Regions from separate parts of the Homo sapiens genome. Here all the other regions are linked to region 7. The links are contacts of gene promoters, found by promoter capture Hi-C in blood cells and fetal thymus (Javierre and others, 2016). All regions are on one chromosome and are shown on one strand. Each heading gives the region's core, a stretch centred on a gene start or on the middle of the fragment in contact. The rest is flanking DNA. Distances are from core to core; before and after follow the strand shown.

Region 1 (4,207 bases), core at 804-3,303, 430 kb before region 7:
AGTATAGCAGACCAATGTCTTGCCTCTCTACCAAAAAAACTAACTTACCAACAAATGTATAGCCATTCATAACTTCACTTTAAAGCATTGTTCTGCCATAGTGAAAATTCCATACTAAGGAATTTCAAATTATTAAAAGTTGATGAGTGAACAATACTGTAACATCAAAACCATCATGTCTTCAGACCATCAGAATAAACCACACTCAGTTCTTAATTACCCTTAAGAAATAAATGAACTTGAGCATGGAGATGCATACCTGTAGTCCCAGCTACTTAGGAGCTTGAGGCAGGAGGATCTTTGAGGGTTCAGGGTGTGATGATTGTGCTTGTGAGTAGCCACTGCATTCCAGCCTGAGCAACATAGTGAGACCCCATCTCTTAAAAAAAAACTGAAGTGGGCCAGGCGTGGTGGCTCACGCCTGTAATCCCAGCACTTTGGGAGGCCGAGGCGGGTGGATCACGAGGTCAGGAGATCAAGACCATGGTGAAACCCCGTCTCTACTAAAAAATACAAAAAATTAGCTGGGCGCAGTGGCGGGCACCTGTAGTCCCAGCTACTCAGGAGGCTGAGGCAGGAGAATGGAATGAACCCAGGAGGCGGAGCTTGCAGTGAGCCAAGATCATGCCACTGCACTCCAGCCTGGGTGACAGAGCAAGACTCCATCTCAAAAAAATAAATAAATAAAAACAAATAAATAAATAAAAAAAATGAAGTGAACACTAAACCATCTAATAGATAAACCATTCAGACTATTCCTGTTACTGCACTCAGTAGTTTTAGTTACAAATGATGACAATCAAAGTTATGTTCCATGGTTGAGTGCACTTTGTCTTATTTGTATGTGAAAACTCACACAGTAGGAAGAAGTTCTGTATTGGTTAACTGAGTTCTCAACTGGAGACAGCACTGACTTCCCCATTTCCCTTTGCGGGTAGGTGGCATTCCAGATTATGTGGTGGTAAGCTTTTCTTTTGCGGGGAGAGAAGACAGGGCAGTACTCCTGATACCTAATAACTATAGAGCAGACATGTTAAACACCCTGTAATTATCAGGCCACTTCCCCAACTGCAGAATTGCCCATCTCACGTGCACACACAGGACCCATGTTGAGAAAAATGAAGAAACTGATGCCTTATTCTTTAAAGTAGTTATAAGTTGAAGATGTAGACCTATCTTGGCATTCTAAAATTCTGTAACAACCCTTCTGAAATGGGTGTAATAAAATGTCAACAGGTTAATTGGTTCGTGATCACTGTGGCTTAAAAATCTAGTTAAAATGCTAAGACTTGTGCACAGTATAGGCAAAGTCACTTAGATTGTTTCAAAAAGTATGCCTTATAGAAATAAACATTTGACATACATAAATAACCCTTGGTTTACACATAACTCGCATTTGAGAAATGAATGTGTTGTAGATCATTTAGAATCTTTTTCAATCAAAAATTGAAAGAAATATTTCGTCACCCAGGTCAACCAGAGATTGCTGGTTTTACTCATGATACTTAAGTAGAGTATGATAGTTACTATTTCACCTTCAGCTGTACTTAAGATGTTTTCCTGGAAAAATTCATTCTGCTTTCTGACCAGGATTTCCAGAAACTCTGACCCTTCTAAGAGGTCTGGGTGGAATTGTGATGGTGATTCTGCTAGTAGACAGTGTAACTTCTGCGTCTACAAAAAGAGGATAGGCCGTCACTGCTCACATGGCTTTGCGTGAAAGCCCAATGGTACTGTCTCTATGGCAGAGATGAGGAAGGAACACCAGCGTCCTCCAACTTTCCTGTTCTTCCTTTGGGTTAATGGCCACTGTAAGGAAACAGTTTTCTGCCACGTGTGGGGTGATTTGAATGTAAAATGCCCAACTCTCATAGCAGGCTGAACAGAAACATTTTTTATACTCATTGTTAATTTGTTCTAATCTAAATTACTTTTAGACTATTAAATATTATTCTATTTTAAAGTTAAGGGACTAATGCCTCTGATAACCTGATTAAAAAAAAAAACTTTCTGATACTCAGAAGTTAAGATTTATTCAGTTGAAGATCATTTCTTTCAGGTGTTGATCGTGTGATATTTTTCACATCTGTAATCTGAGGTTCATATGAAATGATAGTGAAATAAAATTGTTCATTTAGGTCTTTTTGTCATGTTAATATGTTATCAGGTTAATGGGAAGTTTAATCTAGTTAATGTAAAATTAATAAATTGTAATCTAGTTTATTGCTTTTTTGGAAAAGAATACTGAAAACATTGTTTACTTAATACACATGACCTGAGGTAATAAAGAGGAGCTGGCCTTTTTGAGGGGGGAATAATGGCAGTGAATAATATTATCTAAGACAGTTTTGCCAGCTTTAAATTCCTGGAAGTTCATCCAAGAAGTCCTGATCCCTGTGTTCAGTAAAATCATGTGAGATCAAAATATAATTCTGATTTTAGATCTGACAAATTCTGTATCTCTGTTACAATAGGTACGACAACAATTCCACGATGCCAAATTCATGGCAGACATTGATCTGGATCCAGGCTGTACATTGAATAAAAAGATTCGAAATGCACAGTTAGCACAGTATAACTTCATTTTAGGTAAGAATGGAAACTTACCAAAGAAAATTTGCCACACCTCAGGAAAATCTACTGAAACCTTGAGACAGGTTTAAGTGAATTGTAATCAAGAATTTATTTAGTTCCTTCCAGTCCTGATTTTTTTTCTATTATATATTTTAATATATAATAACTATAAAAATAGGCTCATGCATACATACTGGGTTTTTTTTTTTTTCACTTAAATCATGGATGTCTGTGAGAAAATATTTTGCTATTATAACAAGAATGAAGACGCATTGCTTTTAAACACATCTATTGGATTACTTTCTCAAGATAATGCCTTATGTGGGATTACTTGAAAAAAGATATTCATGATGTTTGGGGTTTTATTATTTGGTTGTTACGTTGTCTAGATTGACTCCATAAGCACAGTAGTTTTAGATATTGCAAAGAGTTTCTTTTAAATATCAACACATGGTCACTTGTACCTTTTAATGTATCAGAAGCTATGGGGTAGGTTTTGGGTCCTAGGATCATTTCTTTTCAGATGTTCAGTGTGAATTCTTCCATATCTTTAGATTAAGTCTGACAAAGCTTTGTGTGTTTGTTTTAGTTGTTGGTGAAAAAGAGAAAATCAGTGGCACTGTTAATATCCGCACAAGAGACAATAAGGTCCACGGGGAACGCACCATTTCTGAAACTATCGAGCGGCTACAGCAGCTCAAAGAGTTCCGCAGCAAACAGGCAGAAGAAGAATTTTAATGAAAAAATTACCCAGATTGGCTCCATGGAAAAGGAGGAACAGCGTTTCCGTAAAATTGACTTTGTACTCTGAAAACGTCAATTTATATTGAACTTGGAGGAGTTTGGCAAAGTCTGAATAGGTCAACCTGCAGGCGTAACTATTTTTGACCTAGTCAGTTTTTAAACAATGTGCATTTGAAGGAGTTAATTAAAAGAGAGCCAATAAAATGATTTTACTCATTCAGTATCTGAGTACTGGAAGTGAAACATGAGGAATGCTTTAGTGTAATGTGGGAGAACTTTTTTGTAAATTTAATGCAATTGAAAAAGTTTTCAAATTCAATTAAGATAACTAGAATTGGATTATGGTGTAAAAATAAAAAAAAAATTTATTCACATAAGTTTCAAGACTGCTCTGTCCCTCACATGTACACATACATGCCTGAGACAGATAATGTGGTTCAGTATTTATCTTTACAGTTTTACAGCAAATATAATGCAGGGTGGATGGAGACGGGGTAGGTCTGCAGCATCATAATGCTATTCATAAACTGGGTGTGAGCTGGGTGCTGGCTTCTCAGAGGATAAACACTTTTGGGAGTGTCATTTTTACTTAATGTTGGATGGACACCTTTTCAAACAAAAACTACCATGGATCTATTACAGAGTAGATTTGCACAAATGTTTAAGATAAAACGTGAATCTTCAGAGAAATATCTGTTTATGGCAGACTGTTCTGGACCATAGAATCACTTGGTTTACAAATTCCCTATTTTCTCATAAGGGATCATTTTCAAAATCTTCTACCAATAAATGGTGATTGAAAGGACAGCACAAAGTAAATAATTTCTTATGTGGATAAATACTAATTCCTCCTTGTTAGAATGATATTTTAAAAGTAACATCTTTTTTT
Region 2 (4,074 bases), core at 1,164-3,663, 370 kb before region 7:
ATCAATGTTTCCTCTACCCGCTTTTTCCTTCACGCTAATCTTACCTCTTTCCCATAGGGGCATGAATCCTCCACTTCCAGAGTGGATAGTATTGAGATATCCCTTTGGGGTCTTTATGATAACCCTTTTACATGCTCCTCCCAGGGCAGGAGAGGGTGCTTCTGTTGGTGAAAGTTTGATGGCCATGAGACTCCTATTAACTGAGGTTAATAGGTTGAGTGGTCCATTTCTCTCTGTTTCTTTCTACTGCATTCCCATCTCTCTTGAGCTTGAAGCCTGGAGTTCAGAGAACCACTGGAGGGAGGCCTGCAGATCTCCAGCTACTTGCCATGGGGGGATGCAGATGTGAAGGGTAGGAAAACCCTTTTTCCATTTGCACCCAAGACATGCTCTCCAAGCCAGCTTCACCACTACTGAAGCCGATATTTTGATCTGGCTGATTATGTGTATTCTCAGTTTGATTAGAAATCTCAATTAGAGGAGGATGATTAATCCAAACTAACACACCAGTTTTCCATTTTGCTTGCTTTTGATTTATTGCCTCAGTTCTAGGATCGAAACACCTTTGTCCCCAGGGGCTGGTTTAAGACTCTTTTGAGCTGTGCTCATTATCCTGTATCCCCTTCAACATCAAGATTCTTTAATCAAGCTGGTGTGCTTTGAACCCTGATGTATTTTTTAGTCCTTTTGAGGTTTTCTGACCTACCTCATCAGTCCTTTCGAGAAGTCTGAATTTTAGTGAAAGCTTGGTTTTACTCAACCAAGATCCCCTGCTACTCACTACAAGGTGATAATTGTTTTAGTGCAGGGTTTTTCAACTTTGGAACTATTGACATTATGAGCCAGACAATTCTTTGTTGTTGAGGGAATGTCGTCCCACAGAATGTTCAGCAACATTCTGGGCCTCTGTTCACTAGATGCCAGTAGCACTCCCTCCCTCCCCCACTGCCCAGTTGTGAAAATCAAAAATGTCTCCAGACATTGTCAAAGATCCCCTGCGGAACAAAAATCACTCTCAATTAAGAGCTACTTTTCTAGTGGAAAATGTACCCAGTATAGTGGGAGCAGAGTATAACGGAAAATGGACCCTGTCTTTCTGGCAGCGTCAGGGTAGGTGTCCCAGGGGAAGTAGCATTTGAGCTGGGCTTTGCAGTATTAGAAAGATCTCATAGTCACAGATAGAATAATTTGTAAGGTATAATCAGGGAGGTATCCATGGCTCTCTGTGATGCCTTCTTGACCAAAACTACATTTCCTACTATTCCTATTCATGCCCTCAAACATCCTAGGGATCACCTGGAGAGGCCTGGCTCTTCCCTACCTCTATGGTTTTGTTTATTCCATGTGAGTAGACTCTATCACTATATGTACAAATTCTGCTTTTGCTAGTTGCATTTACTGAGCTGTACACCCATCTTTGAATAAGGATTGAATTCCCAAAGCAAATTCCCCTAGAGATGGGTCATTTTCTCTTAAGCATTAGGCCTACACTTTGGATAGATGAAGGAGTAGGTTCTGCTGTGAGCAGCATGAATATGTTGAATTCAGTGTTTTGGGGAATTTTAGGCATCACTTCAGATTATCATATGGTGGAGTGTGGCAGTTGTTGCACATTCATGAGAAGAGACCGGCTTACCTGGGATGTGACTCATCTGATGATGTACTGGTCTAGGGGTAGGGTAGGAGGGAATCTGGAATGAGTGTGGGAGGAAGAAATTGACAGCATCCTTTCCCAGGTTGCTAAAATCCATAGTAACACTGGTGGGTGGTGGGAGTCTCACAGCAGGGGTAAAAGAATCACACAGAAACATCAATGAGTTTGGCTATTTATTGATGCCACACAGAGGGAGGTTATGATTACAGTCTGGTTTTAAGTACTGAAATATCCACCAAGGTACCCCTTGAGGAGGCTGGGTAGAAGGGGAAATGGCAAAGCAGCACAGAGATGCAGGGAGGGCAATGGGCTGGGCCGTGTATGTCATACAATTATTTTGGAGGACAATGATGGGTAGGATTGTGCTTTACCCACCATGTTTTTTAGTAACATAACTTAGAATACTACTTGAATAAGCAGTACAGACAACAGGAGTAGCATCAAATATGTTAGCTAGGTTGTAACACCAGGCAGTTCATGTCATGTGGCCTCTCCTTCAAAAGTGAATCACTGTGGACCAAGCACCAGAAACATCGTCCCAAAGATTCATCTTGAAGTCAGAAAGGAGAAGAGCTAAGACCTGCACTCTCTGGAGTAGCAGTGTGCAGCTTTCAGAGTTTGGAAGATTTTAGTCAACTAAATGGGATGTTATTATCTAAAACAATATAATCTCTCACATTGTGTTTCAGATACTGGATGAAGGTTATCAGAAACATTCACTGACTATCTGAAAGCATCACAGTGGGATGTCAGCGGAGACGTGGCTGTCTCAGGAGATTGGACGGAGGTGTGCTCTTCTTTAAGAAAACCCATCACAAAACAAAGCATTCCTACAAAGGAGGCACTGAAACGATTTCCTGATTGAAGAAAGTAATCACTATTAAGTCTCCTGGAATATTGTTCTCTCGTGGTGTGTTTAATTACATTTTCATGTTTAAGAATTATATTAACCCACAACTTTCCAGAGAAGAGCTAAATATACTACTGTGAAAGACAACGTAAACCAAACTGGGTTTTAGAACGTTAATGTAGTTAAGTACCAGGCCCTGCGATGGCCCTCTCTATTTCATAGAGATATGTATCCAGTGTCTCCTGATACACTTCTCAGTTGCTTGATCCAGGTGAGAAGAAAGAAGGGCCTAGATAAAGTAAATCAACAACTCTGCTTCATATCAGCACCCAAGTATCAAAGATGTAAGATACCATGCAGGTTCCTGTCTTCAGAGTCTTCCTGTTGATCTGAGTCCCCTCTTGTACAGCAAGCACTGGGACATGTCAAAATACTGACGACTCATCACTGAGTGATCGCCAAGGCAACAGATGATACCAACAGGACAGAAAACAGCAAGCCCTGTCTTCATTCTGGAGTCAAGAATGATGGACATCACACAGCTGTCTTACAACATAGCTCCAGAACAGGAAGCAAATATCCATGGCAAATAATTAGGAGCCAATGTTCTGCCTTTGAGAAACTGGAAAAAGACCTAGAATGGAGCACCTGGCCAAACTCTCTCCACATGTCTACCATCTTCTCCACCACGTGGATTGTAAATAACGTGGTCCATTTTGTACACGGAGAAATTTGGCCTAGTTTAGTTGGTTGAGGTCAGTAGGAATCTGAGTTTGTTCCTGAGTTTTGTAAGCCTGGTCATACCCAGGTCTCTGATGACACGTATTTGACCCTATGCTAGTACAGTACCAGGTTAAATCAATCTAGCTTACTAAATGAATCCCCCTGAAAGACTACACTACACTTCAGGGACAGTCTTTGCAAACTGCCTCATTAGTAAATATCAGATTCTCCTCCACTCATGTCACTAACAATTTAAGTGTCTCCTCTCCTCGAAAACCATTATTCACCAGAGATTGCTATCGGCCAGCAATGTTTATGTTTAAAGGCAGAGAATACAATAATGTAATTATCATCTAGAAATAAATTCTCTGGCTTTAGGTAAACATTTGTACTTTCCTCCTGTTTCTGGTCTATCTTGAATTTCATCCCAATCCCACTGTTTTATTTTTCACAGGAATTCATGAGAGTAATACACGTTAATGGCTTGGAAAAAAATAAAAAGCACATAATATTAAATCTTAAATTCAAGGTACCCAAGCAATAAAACTGGCATTGGTCAGCAACACCGTTACATGTTTAACAGAAGATGTATATGGAGAGTTTCACATACACTTACCCATTTGTATGCCTATCTATGTTTACATTAATTCTGCCACCATCTAGATATTAGCACCATTTTTTTAATAGCACCATTCTGCTGAACGGATAGGTAAAGGGAGACGTGGGATATTGTGTTCCATGAGGAGTATTAAGTGTATCTGTGCATGAGTCAGAAAATATGCTGCCCATCACATGAAGGCCACATCCTTGCCTTTCTCCCTGTCAAGAATTGGTTCTGATATCTTCT
Region 3 (4,082 bases), core at 228-2,727, 460 kb before region 7:
CCACTTCTGGGTCTGGGCCTTAAAACACTTGGAATAAGCAATTCCACTCTTTTTTTTGCAAATTGAAATGCAGAAATGCCAGCAACCCAAGTACAACCATGCAGATGAGAACCCTCTAGAGAAAGGGTTAACAAGCTATCACCCATAGAGCAGCCACTTGGTTTTGTAAATAAAGTTTTATTGGAACACAGCTATGTCCATTTGTTTACAAAGTATATATAGCTGCCTCTGCACCACAATGACAGAGAACTTAAGTAATTGCAACAAAGACCGTGTTGGGCTGCAAGCCTTAAATATTTGCTATCTAGTGTTTTCAGAAAAAGTTTACCAACCACTGCACTAGAGCAAAAAGATAAAAGGAACTTGGGGCCCTACATAGCTGTAACAGAAAAATAAGTAATCATCTAGTTTACTGTCATTGTATTTTGGAGCCTCTCTTCTACCTCTGTTTAGCATTTACTGTAACTATTGTATCTTATGAATTGGATTTCTGTTTTCTTCTATCTGATTGCTAGAAATAGGGGCTTATGATGGCTAGGGGAAAGCATGAATGTGGCACCATGGTCTTGTTGGCTCCCAAGTAGGTTGTACCAGCAGAGGACTCCAATTTTATTAAGCTTCCAAGCTGCTTCTCACTGAAAAATTCAGCTGGCTATGTATATCCTTGAACTAGCATAGTGTCTCAGATTGAAATATTGGTATCAACATTCCCAAACTCAGTTCTTGAGAGATAATTTAAAATAGTCCAACAGGTCAATGGGAAGATATGATGATTAATTTACATGTCAACTTGACTGGACCAGGGATGCCCAGACATTTGGTTAAGCATTATTCTGCTTGTATCTGTGAGATTTTCTGGATGAGATGAACATTTGAATGGGTGGACTGAGTAAAGAGTGCCTTCCTTAATGCAGGTGGGCCTCATCCAACAATTAAAGACCTGGGTAGAACAAAAAGGCTGAGTAATAGGGAACTCCTCCTGCCTGATTGCTTGAGCTGGAACATTGTGCCTTCAAACTTGACTGAAAAATGGGCACTTCTTGGATCTTGAGCCTGCTGGCTTTTGGACTGGAACTTTTACCATGGGCTCTCCTGGGTCTCCAGCTTTCCAATTGCAGAACTTGGGACTTCTTAGCCTCTATAATCTTGTGAGCCAATTCCTTCTAAGAAATCTCTCTCTGTCTCTTTCTCTGTCTCTGTGTCTGTCTCTCTCTCTCTCTCCTCCCCTCTTTCTCTCTCTTCAGATAGGTAGGTAGGTAGGTAGATAAATAGATGGCAGATAGATAGATAGTAGATAGATGATTTTGTTTCTCTGAAGAACTTTGGCTAATATTCAGAATATTTTTTATGTATACACAAATTACTCATATATTGCTATAAGAAACAGGACTTGAAAAAATGTTTTTATTCATAATCACATCACCATAATTGAATCATTGGGTGGGAAGTACTCAGAAACAACATGGATATGTGCAGATTTGTTTGGAGGAAAAACTATCAGACTATACAACTCAGAGAACCAAGTGATTCTTTACCAGCAAGCACTCAAGTTCCGTATTTTTAGAAAGACCTTCCAGTTACTGCCCTTATATGCATTTTTTTTTTATTTGATGAGGCCCAAAAGATTGTACAGAAGAATTTTCATTTTTTTAGACCAGTATTCCTAACTGTAAGTAATTTTGCCCCCATAGGACATTTGGCAATGTCTGAAAGCAGTTTTGGTCATGACAACTGGGAGAAGAGTGCTATTGATATTCAGTGGGTAGAGGTCAAGGATCCTGCTAAGCACCTATAGTACACAGAACAGTGGCTTCCCTCAACAAATAATTATTTAGCCCCAAAATGTCAATAGTGCTGAGTTTGTGAAAAATCCTGCTTCAGACAATGCTTTTGATATCCGGGTAAGGCCACATATCAAAGTCCAGCAGCCATTTATTTAGTAAAAATGAACTCACAGCCTTTCCTGGAAACTGTTTTTAATAGAGGTAGGAAGGATGAAGAAAAGTGTGAGGTGCTCAGATACCTTCAGGGAATGGCACAGATACTCTGCAAAGAAATGAGAAGGGAGGGACGCCAAAGGCAAATGCACAATTCTACACATTTACAACTTACTTTGGAGGAAAGCATGCCCTTTGGAGATGAGGTTCAGAACCTCCTAAAAGCTATCCAGAATGTATTCCTCATACGCTAGGCCTCTCAAAGCTATTTTAAATCTGTCTTAGTCCATTTTGTATTGCTATAACAGAATACCACAGCTAGGAGATTTACAAAGAGAATGAACTTATTTCTTAAATTCTGGAGGCTGGCAAATCCAAGGTCAAGGGGCCTATACCCAGGGAAAGCTTTCTTGCTGCATCATCCTATGGTGGAAAGCAGAAGGGCAAGAGAGCTCAAGAGAGCAAAAGAGCAAGAGGGGGCCAAACTCACTTTTATAGCATGCCCACTCTCACAATAACTAACCCACTCCCAAGATAATGACATCACTCCAATCATGATGGCAGAGCTGTCACGACATAATCACCTCTTACTAGGCTCCACACCCCAACAGTTGTATTGGGGATTCAGTTTTCAACACATGAACTTTAGGGGACACAGTTAAATCATAGCAAAAGCTCTCAGCAAAGAAGAGATATGACAAAAATGAAAACAAATTGAGGAATATTATCCATAATGGTTCCAAATAAATCTAGAGTAAACCAGAGAGGGTAACCGGCTAGAGCATTCATTTCCCCAAACATAATTAACTTTTATAGCCCTTTAGAATTTGCAAAGTACTTTGTATACTTGTACTTTCATTTTATCCTCCCAACAAGTTCTGGAATCAGGTTTATTACTTCTATCACCATTTTATAGCTGAGGAACATGATTATATCACACGGGGCTCCAACAGAGAACAGAGGGCACACTCGGGTTAGAGTAATTTAAAGAGGGTTTATTTAAAACAGATGAGAAGTATAGGGAGTCAGGATCCTACAAATAGTAATTGTGGGAAATCTGTAACCACATGTAGGCCAGGCAGGGTGAGGGTAGCCAGCATTTGCTGGAACCTAGAAGGGAAGTGTTCTGTAGTTATTGCTATGAGATCAGCAGTGACCTTTGGTTGTGAAACATCAGCAGCACAAGGCAACCTCCTCCTGGGAAGAGCCAGGGGTATACATGTCCTGATTTTGTTTTCTTCCCTCCCAACTCCTGCTGAGGGTCTCACTGGCTGGAAGCAACTGGAGGCCAATGGCCCAGCAGTCCATTGGTACAGGCCACACCTTTTCCCCTTCAACATCCTCTATAGCTTTTCATCCACATGAAAAGTGTGTGCCTCCAACACAAGGGACACATGAAGTCCCTTCAGAATGTGTATCATCATGGAGTGATCTTGATTCAATCATATTCCCTCACGAGAAGTAAAAAGTTAGCCACTCCTAGTATTCTTTATATATGATACATATATAAGGAAAAGTTGGGGGAGTGGAAAAAAAAGTAACAAAAAACATAACTTCTACAGGCCATACTTCTTTCTGGTCATGAGGGCTAATTTAGCAATCATAGCACTAGCACCAGCTCCATGGATGCACAACCTGGGGAGTCACACAGGACTCAATACTTAGAAGCGCGCTCTACACTTAGTTGCTGCTCCACTGTGCCTATTAAATAGATTGAAATTAACAAGGAGCCCTACATTTTTATTTTGCATTGGGTTCTGCAAATTATGTAGCTAATATTGTATAACTCTGTTCTTCTAGCACCTATTCAAGTTACCCTTAGCCTTTGTCAGGACCTCGCTAGACTGGGTTCTTTACCTAGAAGGATAGCCCAAACCTTCCTTCCTTCCTTGTCTTTGTTGGGTTCCCAGAGTTTTCCAACAGCAGAATATTAGACAAGGAAGTACTAAAAAATGTCTCAACGAATCTCCTGGGTTCTTGACAAAACTCTCCTTTATGTAGAAGAAACCCATTTGTCCTCTTGTAATCAGGATCAATCACTCTGGCCAGAAAAACAATCCCAATTCTGCCTGTGAGTGTAGCAGTACGTGAAGCCCCACATAGGGTGTACTCTTAGGCCAGTTGATCAGAACCATGACTATGCCC
Region 4 (3,955 bases), core at 874-3,373, 270 kb before region 7:
GCATACCTTTTTCTTAATTTTTCTGATGTGTCTAGGCTACACAGTTCATCTGTGAGTTTTCTCAAATTGTCACAAAAATCTCCAAAACATTTTTCAATGTATTTATTGAAAAACATCCTCATACTAAGTGGACTCATTTGGTTCGACCCCGTGTTATTCAAGGGTCAACTGTATTAAGAATGATGACTATATTTGCTTAGCAAATCAATTTTCTTGCATCTTCGCCAGTGGAAGCATTAGCTGCTTGCACCAGTATAAGGGGAAGAGGAGGAACATAATTTTGACCTCAAACAAGAAGTCTCTGGGTCCAAGGAGACCACCTGGAGAAACTATTCCATCACTATCCCAGTCTTGAGCACATTGAGCTGAAAGAATACTCAGGATGCCTGTAATCCCAGCATTTTGGGAGGCCGAGATGGGTGGATCATGAGGTCAGGAGTTTGAGACCAGCCTGGCCAATATGGTGAAACTCCATTTCTACTAAAAAAATACAAAAATTAGCCAGGCGTGGTGTCACGCACCTGTAATCCCAGCTACCAGGGAGGCTGAGGCAGGAGAATTGCTTGAACCCAGGAGGCAGAGATTGCAGTGAGCCTAGATCATACCACTGCACTCCAGCCTGGGTGACACAGCAAGACTCCATCTCAAAAAAAAAAAAAAAAAAAAGAATATTCAGGATGTTTGAGGATGCGGCAAAAGATAGGCCCTCATTTCTGAGATTCTGATAAGAGACATCATACATTATTGATGCTAACACACATCTTATCCAACTGTTTTTGTGGTCCACAAAAACGGACTTTACTCACTGGCATATTTGGTCTCCAGTCTTTGACATTTCTAATAAAAATGTGCTCATAAAGAGGTTATACCATTAACCCTGGGCAACTTATCTACAGTGGTCAGCTTGTCTTTTTAAAGATTTATGCTGTCCATTTGAGACAATGCTCACTGCAGGCCAATATCTCATGATTGATGTGTGGAGGCTCCTGGGAAATGCTGGTCCATGTCTGATCCCAGGCTTGAGAGCAGTGACACATAGGTGTCTGGTTCAGATACAAACCAGTGTTTGACAGGCTCACAAACCACAGAGTGAGGAAGAAATATATAAAAATAACAGTACCTGGTATATGTTTTGAGAAGTTAAAATGCCTTGCCTTAGATTAAGACTCTTAGTCTCAGTTATCTCAAAAGAGGGTTGTGAGATAATTGGAATCTTGTAACACACTGCGAGCAACCATGACCCTCTTGTTAGAAGCTGGTGGAAAGGAATTGTAGGAAGGGGACATGGGAGAAAGAGAATGGAAAACACAAAGGCACAGGGAGATGTCAAATGCTCAGTGGTGGGCATGTGGCTAGAGGTATTGAGATCTTGGAGGCAGGAAGGGGTAGGGGTAACAGGGGAGCAGAAGACATTTATAATCCCTCTTTCTCATTCCCAAGAGACCAGGGCAGAGGAAAGAACCCAGAATTAGAGTTGGATTTCCTAAGGGATTACAAGGTTAAGTGGAAGAGACCTGGGGACAACAACTCTGGTTTTCAATTGAGTTATCATAATATTAGAAGAACAGCACCTCAGAGGCCAAGATAGGAACTCATAAAGAAAATTAAATAAAACAGGTTAGCTGGTCCCAGTGGCTCATGCCTGTAATCCCAGCACTTTGGGAAGCTGAGGTGGGTGGATCACGAGGTCAAGAGATCAAGACCATCCTGGCCAATATGGTGAAACTCCGTCTCTACTAAAAATACAAAAATTATCTGGGTGTGCTGGCGTGCACCTGTAGTCCCAGCTACTCGGGAGGCTGAGGCAGAAGAATTGCTTGAACCCAGCAGCAGAGGTTGCAGTGAGCTGAGATTGCAGCACTGCACTCCACCCTGGCGACAGGGCGAGACTCCGTCTCAAAAAAACAAAAACAGAAACAAAAACGAAAAAACAGGTTAAATGCAGAAATACGATTTTAAGTGTAACTTTTTATAAGTAAGTAAAGCCACTATAAATAATGAAAAATATTTACAAAACACCTTTGTAAAGCTTGTAAAAACATTGGCTATCATAGGGTGCTTAATCATAAGCCTAAGACATACCGGTTATCATTCACATTCCAAATAAGTAATTCAGAGAGTATTTTTCATCCATAATAAAGCTATCAATCAAAGACATGAAATACAGTCTTCCAGTGGTAATTCTCATGGGCAGGACAAGCATTACATCTCACAACTTAAGCTTAGTAATCCAATAGTCAAAGATGAAAAATAGGGATGGAAATTAAATTTAGACTGTTTGCTGTTATGATTACTAGGGAACAATAGGTCATGTAATTAACTGAAGAACATACTTGATCCTCTCAGGATCCTACTCAGTAACTTCATCCTGGGTAGGAAGCATGTTTAGAAGAGAGATATTATTTTTCCAGGATCCAGGAAAACAGGGCTTTACCATCTCTCAAAGTGGCTATCACTTCCTGTCCTGGGCATCAACCCTGTGTAGCAGACACTGCCCCTCTCCCCTCAGGCCCTACTGCAATAGTGCATGATGGATTCCCTACTCCCAGCATCTCTATGGAATCCAGAGAATTAACAGTCCGATCTCCCTAGAGTAACCTCAACCCATGACTGGTGGAAAGTGGTGTATATTATCTCAATTCCTTCACCCCTCAGGTCGGGGAAACTCAGAGGTGCAAGATCTGCCATGGTTCCCATATAATGGTTCACCCTTTCTTAGCTGCCTTCCTTGGGAACTGACTCTTCCTTGGGGTCCACCCTTGAAGGTGAACTCTTCATGCCCTGAGGACTATCCATAGCCCAAAGCTGCACAGAGAAGAAACTCTGCAAAAGGTGACTATGGGAAAAGAATAGTAAAGCGTGGGTAAGAAGGGGATGCTAGGTGGAGGAGCTGTCTGGAAATTCATAAGGGACCAGTGGGTGGGACCCCCTCCCAGGGAGCAATTGGGAATAAACGAGATTTGATGCAACCCTGCCTTGCTTCTCTTTTGACTTTGAATTGAAGGTGCACCCCAATTCTTTTGCCTGTAAACCCATTGCTGGCTTCTGTCCTCACTACAGAATCTGTCCTTGTGTCTGCAGCCTTCTCGGCCAGCTTCTGATCTCTTCTCTCCCCTAGTTCTTGGTCTGTTCCAATGCCATTGGCTTTAATGCTGGATCCTCTTGTGATGCTTGTTCCCAAAGGGGATCCTCTCCCAGAGATCACACTCTTATACCTGTTCCTGTGCACAACCACAGGGCCATTTCAGATCTCTATCTCACTGTGATGCATCCTGTATTTTGTCAGCAATCAACCCGTTTCCTACAACTGCCGAAGAACCCTTCCTCCTTTGTGGTAAAGGCTATATTCCATTTTGAATACTTTGAAAATCACAGACTGTTTAAAGAAATAAAAACAAAAACTAGGAACCAATCAACCATTTATCTTGCCCCCCACCTTTGGTCCCCTGCCACTTCGATTATTTATTTGTTTATTACCAGATCCTTCCTTCTGCTTAAACATCTTTCTCACAGTCTGGCAGGAAGAGCCATCTCCCAGGCACACACCGCAGCGATCCTCGGTGGCATTGGAATCGATCTCATAGTCACAGCCAACCATCTGTGGGGAAGAGAGGTGGAGGATGAATGCCCAGGCAGGGGATGCCACTCTTGCCTGGATCTGTGACTTCTTCTTTCCCCTTTGGTGCTTCATAAGACTGGGCAGGAGGTACCAGGTACAAGGACAAATGTTTGTTCCTGGTGGCAGCAAGAGGAATATCCAAGCATCCACCAATGGTAAAGGCACTACTTGCTCAGAGAGGAGGGAGGCACACATTGAGTGAGGTCTCTAATTTCCCGAGTCAGAGGCAGAACTGAACAAAATCTATGCAAATGTTCCAAAAATCTAACTATGAAAACATCTTGGAGTTGAAGCTGGTAGAGCAGCAAGTCTCTTTCAGATGTGTTCTCATCCTGG
Region 5 (3,920 bases), core at 289-2,788, 390 kb before region 7:
ACAAGGATGCAGGACACCAATGTCTCCTTTGGGTACCAGCTGGACCTGCCCAAGGCCAACCTCCTCTTCAAAGGCTCTGTGGACAGCAACTGGATTGTGGGTGCCACGCTGGAGAAGAAGCTCCCGCCCCTGCCTTTGACACTGGCCCTTGGGGCCTTCCTGAATCACCGCAAGAACAAGTTACGGAGTGGCTTTGGCCTCACCATCAGCTGAACCCTCCTGACCCTTCCACGCCCTTCCTACTTCAGATTCTATTTCCACCCTCCTCCTGCCACAGAGAGGAGACCTGGGGCCCCCTCCCCCTCCCTTCCCTTCCTCCTCTGGGGTCAGGCGGACAGCAGAAAGGAGGGACCCCACCACCCTAGCGGCTGAGAAGGGGATTATGGAACCAGCTGGCGCTTCGGGATTCTGAGTACCAGGGGCAGCGTGTCTAGTGGCCCTGGGGTCAGTCCCAGAAGGGATTCTGGAATTGAGTGGCACACAGGATTCTGAGCACCAGTGGTAGAGGCAGCCAGACAACCTCAGGGAGGAATGTCCTGGAGTCCCCATCCTCCAAAGGGCCTGGGCCTGCTCCAAGGGGGCAGCGAGAGGAGCTTCCCCATCCCCGGTCAGTCTGCCCTGCCCCTGTCCACTTTCCCATCTACCCCTCGGTATAAATCATGTTTATAAGTTATGGAAGAACTGGGAGATTTTACAGAAAAATAATATATATATATGTGGAAAAAGAAAACAAACAAAAAAAATGAGGCAGGACACAGGTCACGTCCAAGAAAGCCAGTTAGTTCAGAGAGTGTGGAACAGGGTTGACAGTCAGCATGGAATGGAGGTTTTGTGGGTCAAGGCAGCAAGTCCACATCAGTGAGGTCAGACCCTGGCACCAGAATTCCAGGACAGTTGAAAGACAGAGCTGAAGGCCCAGGCCAACAGGAAACAAGAAACTGGACACCAGCACCAAGCATAGAGCTTGACCCTGGGCACACTGTCTTCGGAGCTCCTCTTCCACTCCCAGCATGGGGCAGGACTGATCATGCATGATGCTGGGACTCAGTTTATAAAAGGAGACAACGTGGCTAGAGTACAGGAATGAGAAGGCCAGAGGCCAACAGTTCCTGCCAAGTTGGGCTCAGTGAAAGCCATTATCTTCCCTTTGATCAGTCACTCCAAAAAAATATCAGGATGTTCAGGCCATCTATTTCAGTGTTTGATCATGCTACCACAAAGAGTCTTTTGTGTGGATATATAGTCTTTGCCTAACAAAGCCACAAAATACAAAGAATATGCTGAATTTTTCTTTTTCTTCTTTTTTTTTTTGAGATGGAGTTTGTCTCTTGTCCCCCAGGCTGGAGTGCAATGGCGCGATCTCGGTTCACTGCAACCTCTGCCTCCCGGGTTCAAGCAATTCTCCTGCCTCAGCCTCCCGAGTAGCTGGGATTGCAGACACATGCCATGAGACCCAGCTAATTTTTGTCTTTTTAGTAAAGACGGGGTTTCACCATGTTGGCCAGGCTGGTCTTGAACTCCTGATCTCAAGTGATCCACCCGCCTTGGCCTCCCAAAGTGCTAGGATTACAAGTGTGAGCCACTTTGCATGGCCCTCTGCTGAATTTTTCTACCTGCTTGGCTCTGTCGTCCATACTGAAAACTATCAAACCTATTATGTAGCATGTGATATTTTGTATTACTTGCCAAAGATAGCAATTCAAGTTTTGGAATGGAATCTAGCAAAAGTATAAAGCAGGAAGAGTTTTAGTATGAGCTGATGATAATCATTTTTTTTGCCAGAATTATTCAAAATGTGATGTGGTAGCCAGCCTCCAAGAGGACTCCCTGCAATCCCCACCCGCTTGGTATTCATACCCTTTACTAGTCTCCTCCCACGTTGTATGAGGGTTGGCCTGTGTGACCAATAAAACACAGACATTGTCAGCATTCTGGTCCTTTTCTGGATTAGTGTTTCCTAAAGTGATGTTCTTCAAAATCAGATTGAGCAGAATGACAATTGTTGCTATGACAAAGAAAAAGAAAAAAAAATTGGAAAATAACGTGCTAAGCTAAATGAAAAAAGTTTCCATATTTTTAGGACTTCCCAGAGCCTTTAATATGGTAAGTGCAGTGTGAAACTGTAGGAAGAGTACTGAGAATTCAGGGTATTCTAATCCTATTTGACCCTGGGAATCTTGTTTTTGGGGGGGAAGGTTTGCAGTGTTATGTTCGCCAGTATTCACTTTGGTGAATGCTTCTCTAAAGTTTTCTTGGCTGGGCACGGTGGTTCATGCCTGTAATCTCAGCACTTTAGGAGGCTGAGGTGCTCACATCACCTGAGGTCAGGAGTTCGAGACCAGCCCGGCCAACATGGTGAGACCCCCATCTCTACTAAAAACACAAAAAATTAGCCGGGCGTGGTGGTACTTGCCTGTAATCCCAGCTACTTGGGAGGCTGAGGCATGATAATTGCTTGAACCCAGAAGGCAGAGGTTGCAGTGAGCTGAGATTGTGCCACTGCACTCCAGCCTGGGTGACAGAGTGAGACTCTGTCTCAAAAAAAAAAAAAAGTTTTCTTTATTAATATTGTTTTGAAAATGTAGTATACTAAACAGAACATGATACCTTTCATGTGACTGACCAGTAAAAAAGAAAAAAAACTCATTATAAGATGTAATTTCAACTTTATTAAAACAGAAGTCTTCTTTCAACCCATTGATAGCTGAGACAATCCTTTCATTTTTTTCTTTCTTCTCGGTACCAGGAACCTCTCTATACAGCCGGCCTCTATTCTGATGTTGGGGGAAAAAGCACATATGGCATAAATAGGCTGTAGCATTTTTTGAGAACCAAATTATTTTAGAAAAATACTTTAGAAAATATAATATTCTTTTTTTTAAAAAAGCCCACTTTATAGTTGATAGATACAAAAGGAGATGTAGGGGTAAATTTTTAAAATGCTGAATCAAATTTTTGTGGCATGATGCCAGGAAATTCTTTCCCTTTGTTTTAACTGAACAAAGTTGCAAGATTTTATTACTCACCTTCCTCCAGTTAATTTATTTTAATTAATTAATTATTTTATTTATTTATATTTATTTTTCTGAGACAGGATCTTGCTCTGTCACCCAGGCTGGAGTACAGTGGTGTGATCACGGCTCACTGCAGCCTTGATTTCCTAGGCTTAAGCAATCCTCCCACCTCAGCCTCCAGAACAGCTGGGACCACAGGCATAAGCCACTATGCCTGGCTAATTTTCTTAATTTTTTGTAGAGATGGGGATCTCACTTTGTTGCCCAATCTGGTCTTGAACTCCTGAGCTCAAGTTATCTTCCTGCCTCAGCCTACCAAAATGTTGAGATTACAGGCATGAGGCACTGCACCCGGCCTTCACCCTTGCTTAAACTCAGTTTAGGTTTCATATAGGCCTGTCTTTCTGGTTAGATTTGACATGAATACTGAATCAAGATCCCTGAATTACAGACTACAACTCTCAGCTTCCTGAAGATTATTACTCCTTCACTTGTGTTATTTTTAAAATTCACTTATTGCCTTGGATTTGAATCTTAAAAGTTTAATCACAAAACATCAGCTTCATACATTTTTAAAATTAATGGCACAAAATTGAATCTTAGAAATTCAAAATTTTTTAGTATTAATTTTTTGAAGGAAGAACAAAGACTTTCTTATTTCCAAATCTATCAAATTAGAGAAATTAGAGTAAACCTGTAATACACCTAGTGATAATGAGCTCATCTCATATAAAGCCAAGGACTCAATTCTTATCAAGGGAATGTTTCAGTATTTTACATGTTTATATCTTGGTTACGCCTTTCTCACTTGGAAAGTACATTGAAATTACTTGTTGTATTTGTCCGTTTTCACGCTGCTGATAAAGACATACACCCCTGAGACAGGGAAGAAAAAGAGGTTCAATG
Region 6 (4,219 bases), core at 1,252-3,751, 410 kb before region 7:
TTAGTTCATTTGTAAATGTTCTGTACTTTTATACCTATCTAGTTGCAGGCTAGTAGCAAGCAATTTTTGGACTGTGTAGGTTCAAAGAATATCCTTTGAATAGCACTATTTTACATGCTTTAGATGTATTAACTAATTTAACCCTCACAATAACTCTACAAGGACAGTATTATTATTATACTAGTGAAGTAACTAATAAGTGTTAAAATTTTGCACTCAGGTTTTGGGACTCCAAGGCCCCTGTTCATAGCATGTTGTAGAGGGAAAGAGGGAAAGAGGTAAGATCAGGTAGATTTCTTTCGTCTCCTAGAGACCCAGGGTGGAATGAACAAATGAACAGGAAGCTGTGAAAACTAGTCTGGGGCAAAAGAGATGAAGTAGATTAGGGCATGGGATAGAATTGAGGTGGGCTGTAGTGGTTTATGTCATTCAGGACTAATGGAAGTTACCAGCAAATTCAAAGAATCAGAAGTGGGGTCCCAGGCCTAGCTCAGGGGTTGAGAGGAGGCCTGAATTTACAAAGGTCGTTGTTGCTTAGAATTGATTATAGTCTTCAAATAGAACATAAGGAAAAGAATATATGAAAGAGTGCCATTTGTTCTGTAAAGACATTCTAACCAAATGGCTAGTATGGACAATTACTTGCAGCTAGCAGAACAAAGAAAGTAATTGATCAAATGCAATTGAAAGAGATCCTTGACCTAGCTCTCCAGCCTCCTGCATATGTCATTTAGAAGGGCGACTTGACTCTTAATAAGTCTTTATTTCTAGAAAGTTTTTTCTTTTAAGTAACATGTTTAATGGGAAGATAATAAAATATTTTCAATGCTATTTTATTCTCATGACTTAAATAAAAACTTCAGGACTTGGGAAATATCCCCCTTATGATAAAGCAGACAAAGAGGTAAATGTATGGATTTCCTGAATTGTCTCATCAAAAGCAGTGTGGGTTAAAAACAGGAGGTGTGGCTGGGCCCAGTGGCTCACTCCTGTAATTGCCAGCACTTTGGGAGGCCAAGGTGGGTGGATCACTTGAGGCCAGGAGTTCGAGACCAGCCTGGCCAACATGGCAAAACTCTGTCTCTACTAAAAATGCAAAAAAAAAATTAGCTGGGCGTGGTGGCGCGTGCCTGTAATCCCAGCTACTCAGGTGGCTGAGACATGAGAATTGTTTGAACCCAGGAGATGGAGGTTGCAGTGAGGCCAAGATCATGCCGCTGCACTCCAGCCTGAGGACAGAACGAGACTCTGTCTCAAAAAAAAAAAAAAAAAAAAAAAAAAAAAAACCAACAACAACAAAACAGGAGGTGTTATTGAAGCTTTTCCTGCCAAAGGCAGAGAGGTAAAAGAAAACCAAGATGAGCGTGAAGGGCTGTGTGTGTCTGCGGGGGTGTGTGTGTGTGTGCTCTCCGATTTCCTTCTAGTAAAACTCTCCTAATCTAACTTGGCTCCATAGTGAGGCAGACATTACTGAGAGCAGTAAGTAATGTGACTATCTCAATTCACGGTAGACTCTCAACTTACTTATATGTAGACTTTGAAGAGGATGAGGTTTGGGAGTTGGGTTACAGGTGTCCATTTAAAATACTGAACCTACAATTTCTCCACCTCTGTTCCCTGCAGAGGCATTTCTGCAGGACATAGTATCAGGCCTGGTCCTGAAGTTCTATTAGAACTCTGCTCTGTCATCCAGGCTGGAGTGCAGTGGCACAATCTTGGTGCATGGCAGCCTTGAACTCCTTGAACTGCCTCAGCCTCCTGAGTAGCTGGGATAACAGGCATGAGAGCCACTGAACCCAGCAATACTTTATTTAATATTATTTTTATATTTATTTTTGTACTCTGCGATTCTAATAAATGAATAACACTTTATTTTAAAATAGGCTTTGCGTTAGGTTATTTTGCCTGACCATAGGCTAATATAAGTGTTTAGGGGAGGCTAGGGTAAGCTATGATGTTGAAAGGGCTGTGCATTAAATGCATTTTTGATTTCGGGTGGGTTTATTGGGACTCATTCCTATCATATGGTGAGAAGTGTCTGTATTTTCCCTATCAATTTCTATGTGCTGTGTGTGTGTGTGTGTGTGTGTGTGTGTGTGTGTGTGTGTCTTAGCCATTGGAGATTAAGTTGTAGACATTGTGAAACTTCATGCTTAAATACTTCAACATGTATCATTCTAAAAGAAGGACCTTTGTGTATTTGACCATATACCAGTTAAGAAAGACCGAGGCAGTGGAAATGGTCTGCTCTTGGTGCAGGCAATAATTAGGTACATTTTCCATAAAGAATTTTAAAACCATAATAAAACCCAACCATACACTGGCAATTCTGAAAATGTTAGTGATAAAATACCTCTCCCTAAAAAAGATTTTGTTGTTGTTTAGGCTGTAAAAAATTGCTGCTTACTCTTGAATGACACGTAAGCTTTGTTGGGGCTCAGAAAGCAATACCTGAAAGACTGGCACTCTGACATGCTAAGAAGCCTTAGGAGCTGCCTTATAATCAAAGCCTTTCTAAACTTGCCTTGTCCCCCTCTCAAGTGGAGATTCTCTCTGGAATTTCCTTATCTGACTAAGAAAGCTTCTTTCCAAATGACATGCAGTTGTCTTAAGACCCCTCCCTAAAAATCTCATCAAATAACCAGGCAAGATCAACCACCCAGAGAAGAGAAGAGACTAGGAGTCCTCATTACTCCCAGACAGACTTTTCATCTATTCTTCTTAGAGAAGTCCTAGAGATTGCCTGGGGAACCTTATCTGGATAATAAGACAATCTTTGTTTCTGTGCAGTTCCACCCTTCACATTCCCAAACAGTCATTTACTAACCGTTTTCTGAGCACTGGGCCTATTAATTCCCCAATTTTCCTCTTCACTGTGTCACACAGACTTCCTATCACACTGTTTAGGATGGAATGTCAAATACACTCTTTTAATTGGAAAGAAAATGTAAACAAGCTGTAAAGAAAAGAAAACAGGCTGTACAGAAAACACATTGTAACTCATTAAATTGGTATAGTTCATAAGCCAGCCTTATTTAGAGAATGTTATAATCCCACTAAATTTCTTTGTGTTCTGCCTATATAAGCAAGATCGTAACTTGAGAGCATTGACCCCATTTCTCTGGAGTCTGTGTTTCCTGGATGGTAACTTCCAGCGTTTTACTCAAATAAACTCATTAAAACTGAATTCTGATCCTTTTGGTTATTTCAGGTCGATGGAAATAAGAATGTTTTCTTACTCTGACTTCCTCAAGAATCTTTATGTTTTGAGAAAAATAAAAAAAGTGATTTGGGCTTGGTGTGGTGGTTCATGCCTGTAATCCCAACACTGGGAAGCCAAGGCAGGTGAATTGCTTCAGCTCAGGAGTTTGAGACCAGCCTGGGCAACATGGCAAATCCCCATTTCTACCAAAAATACAAAAATTGGCTGGGTGTGGTGGCACATGTCTGTGGTATCACCTACTCAGGAGGCTGAGGTGGGAGGACTGCTTGAGCCTGGGAGGCAGAGGTTGTAGTGAGCCCAGATCAGGACATTGCACTTCAGTCTGGGCGACAGAGCCAGACCCTGTATTAAAAAAAAAAAAAAAAAGATTCGTTTTTTTTTTTTGTATGCAGTAACTCTGGAAAACCTATCAAGTCTTTGTCTAACATTTCTTCCACTTTATCTGCCCACTTTTATGGTTAATAGATGGGGTCTCACTATATTGCTCAGGCTGGCCTCAAACTCTTGCACTCAAGAGTCTCCCACCTCAGCCTCCTGAGTAGCTGGAATTACAGGTGCAAGCCACCATGCCTAGCTTCGATTTATCCATTAATTTCTCCCTGCTTGGGAAGTGCAGGAGGGAAGACTGTAGATAAAAGCCTATAATCTGGGTGAGTTTTAATCTTTACTTGGGTAAATTATTTGCCCTCCTTGTGCCTCAGGAACTTCGTTTGTAAATTGGGAAAAATAAGATTCTCTTCCTGGGATCATTTATTGAATACTTAGTACATCCCAGGTCTGTTTTAAGCACTTTGTGCGTATGAAGTTTTCGAGCTCTCACAACAATCCTGAGGCCAGAACTATTATTAATCCCCTTTTACTAGAGGAAAATATCATTAAATAACCTGCCCACGTTTGTCTTGTTAGCACTCCCTTGATCACTGTACTTACACAAGTAGATATGGTGAAAGAATTAAATAAGATCGATGCAGGAATTTTTGGTGCTGCTTCGCCAGC
Region 7 (4,071 bases), core at 864-3,363:
GGGAGGCAGAGGTTGCAGTGAGCTGAGATTGCACCACCGCACTCCAGCCTGAGAGACAGAGCAAGACTCAGCCTCGAAAAACAAAAACCTCTAATTATTTTTAAACCTAAATAAATATATATATCACCAATAAGCTTGGAGCACTTTATAGGTTTTTTGAACAGTGGATACTCTCAGCACATAGCTCTAGATAGAGGTGACTAGGGAAAATAATCATATCTCACTTTCCAGAGAGCAAAAACCATGGCCCCGTGGTGTCTGCTTCACACCAAGCTGAATTCCCTTACAAAGAAGATGTGGAGCAGAGCTGAAAACCAACCCAGGAGAATGTGTGTCTTTGAACGAAATCATCTCCAAATGCCCTGGGAAGTGCTTGCAGGCTTTGTTTGTGCTGCCCCAGAAGGGAGACTTTTCACAAAGGAACTGTTTTTCAAAGAACAACAAGCCCTGCTATTTTAAACTTGGGGGTGGGAGATTGTATCTGGACCGTTTACACAAGTGAGTGCTGGCTGACTGACATCTAACCCCAGTGTTTGCTGGCTCCAGCTTTCCAAGTAAAGCAAAGAGAGGGACTTGCTTCTGATACGTCTTGAAGCCACAGCAGATGAGTTGTCCAGCAATATTTGAATTTTACAACATGAGCAGAAAACCCTGCTTAGAAATCCTAAACAAGGACAGGCTGGTGATGTTTATCACCCGAGTGGCCTTGGGAATTAAAGGGATGTCAGAAAGTCATGGAGGACACTTCCCGAGGCTTCAGCACAGTCAGCAAACACAGGACTTAGTGCATGCTAACCCAGTGCTCTGTGTGCGTGTGCATGCGTGTGGGTGCATATGCGTGTGTGTGTGCGTGTGTGTCCCTATTATTGCTACAGGACAGTGCTGCATGATTCTAAGAGTCAGACTACCTGAGCTGAAAACTCTGCTCTACATTAGCTGGCCTCATAAGCTCTCCAAGCTGCAGCATCCTCATCTGTACAGCAGGGACAGCAACACTGGTACCTGCACCCTGGAAGGCTATTGCCAGTGATCGGATGGGCTGACACAGAGTGCCACGCGGGCCATTGCTGCTGCTAGGACTGTTTACCCCCAGAGGTACAATGAACCCCCCACCAAACATGAAGGTGCCTCTGACCCTTCCAAGTCCAATAAACTGCTGACTGTTAGGCTTAAAAGAATAAAACAACAACAACAAATTGTCCACCAGAACGCTTCCAATGCTTCCTACAATAACATGAGTTCAGAAATTCATAAAGAGAAGCAGCCAGCTGTGGTCAGTGAGACAGGACAGGAAAAAGTGAGCCCTTATGGAGGTATAGTTCCCCCAAAAGGACTATTCTTTCAAAAATACAACCCTAAATCTTTCCAGGAAACCAAAACACAGCCAAGCCTGCTCAGTAGGGGGGAAGAATCACATTTCCCCTTTCCTGACCAGAGGTTTAAAACTAACTAGAAACACTGCAATGACGGCCAGTAGCCAGTTAGCACTTAAAAAAAAAATTTTCCATGTTTAGAGTCTGAAAAATAGGGGATCAAAACAGTACAGCATTCAAAGAGGAGACAAAAGAGAAAAAGTTACCAGCTACCTCTTGGGTCTTTCAAAGACTGCAGTGTCATCCCTGTAAAAGAGTGAGGTACTCACCTTTCTATAAGAATGAAGGACTCATCACCTTAAGCACTGAATTCTGAGAAAGCCTAGGCTCCTGAGGTCCCAGCCCAGATTTCCTTACAACGCAGCCAAATGGCTTTTCAGAGTTCAGTTCTGCCGGGTGGGGGAAGGGAAAGGGGAGCAACAAAATTCCCGCAAGTCTTACCACCACTGTTTTAAAAAGAAATAAAGAAGAGTCACTAACCTTGCCTCCTGTCCGGGAAGCGAACCGGGCCTGGCTGAGGCTGTCTCCCATAGCAAAGCGCCCCAAAGTTAAGGAGCTGAGCCACCACGGAAAGGTTTGCAAGCCAGCTCCTCTGGGCACATGGCATGATTCAGATGTTGAGGAGAAGAAAAGTCAAAAAAGTTTTAGCCCTCAGCTCCAGAAATAAAGCGCTCGCCTGTGGCCCAGCAGGAAGATGCAGGGGTGCATGGTCAGGCGCGAGAAGGCAGCGACTGCAAAGCTGCCCGCGATCTCCCTGTGCTTTTTTAAGCAGAAAGGAGCTAGACACCTTTTTCCCCTCCCTCCTCCTAAAAGGGGAGTGATTCAGCTGACAGTGTCCGCTTTCGGCGGGGTGTGGAATGGGCCAGAGCGGGAGGGCGCAGCCCACCCCGGTCCCCACCCCTCCGCCTCCCGCATGCCCCGCGGCCTCGCAGCCCGCCCGCTCGGTGCATCTTCCTCCCGGACTCCCACCCCCGCGCTCCTCCGGCCCCGCCCCGAACGCCAGGCCCAGCTGGCCGAGCCGGCCAAATAGGGGAGACCCGGGAGAGCCGCCCTGGGAGGCACTGGAGGAAGCTGCGAGTGAGAGGCCCCCAGGCCAGCCCCCCGGCGTGCTTAAATACAAGCTCAAAATGAGGAGAACAGAGTTGAGGCAGAGGGGGGCCCCACTCCCTCCATCCTTCCGCGCTCAGCGCTGCCCCCTCCCCTGCTGTTCTCCTCCAAGTTCCTGAACTTTTCCCAACATCGCTCTATCAAGACTCCTCACCCACTCGGACCGCTCTGGGATTCTCTTCCACTGGAAAAACTAATAGGCGATTTTTCTCTTTGCCAAGTCACACAAAGGGAAATGGGCTGCGCTAATCTGCTAATGTGACCTCAGACAAGCCCCCTCAGCTGTGCAATGAGGTGACTGCTGCAAATGCCTGTGGGCCCCTCTGAGTCTGCAGATCTCTGTGCGGCTCTTCTGATTCTAGAACCCCATCTTTCCTAGCCCACCTCCATTCACTCAAAAGGAAACCAGGAATTAAGTCAACCCAGGAAGGTGTTAAGGTATCTCCCCAGTTTCCCTGAACTGGCTACCCTGGAGAGGGCGTCCATTCATTCAGAGGCTCAAGCTTTTACATCGGTCAGAGAATGCCACAATCCAGGACGCTTGCCAGGCATCTTGAGAATTTACTGGGCTAATCCAGCCAAGATTTTTCACCTCTGAGCTGAAACAGGCCTCCTTACTCCATTCAGGAAGAATTCGGCCCCCAATATTGACTTTTCCCTGGCTGCCAGCCAACCACATGTGTTAATCAAGAGTTCTGGGATACCAGCTTACTCAACCTTGTATAGGGACAGAGCCTCCAAGGCAAACTCAGTGGTCTGAAAGCAAGGTGGTCCTCTCAGATGTGGAACACATGGGCACCAAGACTTTGAGAGGTATATGCTAGTTTCCTATTTTTGGTGTTACAAGTTACCATAAATTCAGTGGCTTGAAACAACTCAAATTTCTTATGTGACAGTTCTGATCTGAAACTGGTCTCACTGGGCTAAAATCAAGGAGTTAGCACAGCTGCATTCATTTCTGAAGACTCTAGGGGAGAATCTGTTGTCTTGCCTTTTCCAACTTCTAGAGGCTGCCTGAATTCCTCAGCTCATGGCCCTCTTCCCCCATCAAAGCTAGCAATGGCCCTTTGAGTCTTTCTCACATCACATCACTCTTCTTCCTCCCTTTTCCACTTATAAGGACCCTTGCGATTACATTAGACTCATCCTGGTTAACCAGGACACTCTCCTAATCAGCTGATTAGCAACCTTAATTCCATCTGCAACCTTAAATCCCCTTTACGTGTAACAGAACATGTTTTGTTGTCACAAGCAAGTAAAAGAACTACTCTGAGCCTTTTTTCTGTTACGTAAACATTAGGAAGCAGGATCACAACTGGAGTTAAAAGACATTCAGATAACACAGGCATGATGACCTGCATTTGCAAGGGCATTGAAGAACAACTTTGGGCTAGAATTCTTTTTGCTTCTTTTCTTTTCTTCCTCTTCCCCTTCTTCTTTGCTTCCCTTCACCCTTTCCTTGTTTCTCTCTCCTCCTTGTACTCTTCTGTCACTCTTCTTCTTCCACCTTTTTTTCTCCTGCTGCTCCTTTTAATAGCAAGCAAGATCTTGTCCAAAGGGCAAGATCACTCCTAGCTCCCAGGTCCTGGAG

What was found. The method cuts DNA at HindIII sites, captures the fragments that hold promoters and counts their contacts. A CHiCAGO score of 5 or more calls a contact.
Region 1: a contact is called between a fragment that was not itself captured here and the fragment with the promoter of ADAMTS12 in region 7, in 1 of 17 cell types (naive CD8 T cells). The highest score is 5.3, in naive CD8 T cells.
Region 2: a contact is called between a fragment that was not itself captured here and the fragment with the promoter of ADAMTS12 in region 7, in 3 of 17 cell types (total CD4 T cells, endothelial precursors and fetal thymus). The highest score is 5.9, in total CD4 T cells.
Region 3: a contact is called between a fragment that was not itself captured here and the fragment with the promoter of ADAMTS12 in region 7, in 4 of 17 cell types (naive CD8 T cells, activated CD4 T cells, total CD4 T cells and 1 more). The highest score is 8.3, in naive CD8 T cells.
Region 4: a fragment that was not itself captured here is called in contact with the fragment with the promoter of ADAMTS12 in region 7 in 1 of 17 cell types (endothelial precursors); the score reaches 5.3 in endothelial precursors.
Region 5: a fragment that was not itself captured here is called in contact with the fragment with the promoter of ADAMTS12 in region 7 in 1 of 17 cell types (endothelial precursors); the score reaches 5.3 in endothelial precursors.
Region 6: a fragment that was not itself captured here is called in contact with the fragment with the promoter of ADAMTS12 in region 7 in 2 of 17 cell types (naive CD4 T cells and total CD8 T cells); the score reaches 5.5 in naive CD4 T cells.

The regions. Positions count from the first base shown.
Region 1 is chr5:33,464,397-33,468,603 of GRCh38, forward strand. It overlaps TARS1 (threonyl-tRNA synthetase 1), which reads left to right. Exons shown (of 19, transcript NM_152295.5): 18 at 2,475-2,589; 19 at 3,164-3,690. The coding sequence ends at 3,312. Among named protein-coding and RNA genes, the nearest start is that of TARS1, 26 kb to the left of the region's middle. The HindIII fragment of the contact is 2,178 bases long and covers 965-3,142 here.
Region 2 is chr5:33,521,721-33,525,794 of GRCh38, forward strand. It overlaps ADAMTS12 (ADAM metallopeptidase with thrombospondin type 1 motif 12), which reads right to left. Exons shown (of 24, transcript NM_030955.4): 24 at 1,815-4,074. It overlaps LOC105374717 (a long non-coding RNA gene), which reads right to left and starts at 840. Exons shown (of 3, transcript XR_925906.2): 1 at 707-840. The HindIII fragment of the contact is 3,340 bases long and covers 744-4,074 here.
Region 3 is chr5:33,431,019-33,435,100 of GRCh38, forward strand. The region is part of intron 1 of TARS1-DT (TARS1 divergent transcript); the gene reads right to left. Among named protein-coding and RNA genes, the nearest start is that of TARS1-DT, 7.6 kb to the right of the region's middle. The HindIII fragment of the contact is 1,725 bases long and covers 616-2,340 here.
Region 4 is chr5:33,620,754-33,624,708 of GRCh38, forward strand. It overlaps ADAMTS12 (ADAM metallopeptidase with thrombospondin type 1 motif 12), which reads right to left. Exons shown (of 24, transcript NM_030955.4): 14 at 3,478-3,598. Among named protein-coding and RNA genes, the nearest start is that of TARS1, 180 kb to the left of the region's middle. The HindIII fragment of the contact is 192 bases long and covers 2,028-2,219 here.
Region 5 is chr5:33,502,921-33,506,840 of GRCh38, forward strand. It overlaps the pseudogene TOMM40P3. Among named protein-coding and RNA genes, the nearest start is that of TARS1, 64 kb to the left of the region's middle. The HindIII fragment of the contact is 5,698 bases long and covers 1-3,920 here.
Region 6 is chr5:33,484,425-33,488,643 of GRCh38, forward strand. No RefSeq gene overlaps it. Among named protein-coding and RNA genes, the nearest start is that of TARS1, 46 kb to the left of the region's middle. RefSeq lists an enhancer at 3,962-4,219. The HindIII fragment of the contact is 156 bases long and covers 2,424-2,579 here.
Region 7 is chr5:33,889,877-33,893,947 of GRCh38, forward strand. ADAMTS12 (ADAM metallopeptidase with thrombospondin type 1 motif 12) reads right to left here and starts at 2,114. Exons shown (of 24, transcript NM_030955.4): 1 at 1,854-2,114. The coding sequence starts at 1,980. RefSeq lists enhancers at 1,396-1,897, 1,898-2,397. The HindIII fragment of the contact is 2,849 bases long and covers 133-2,981 here.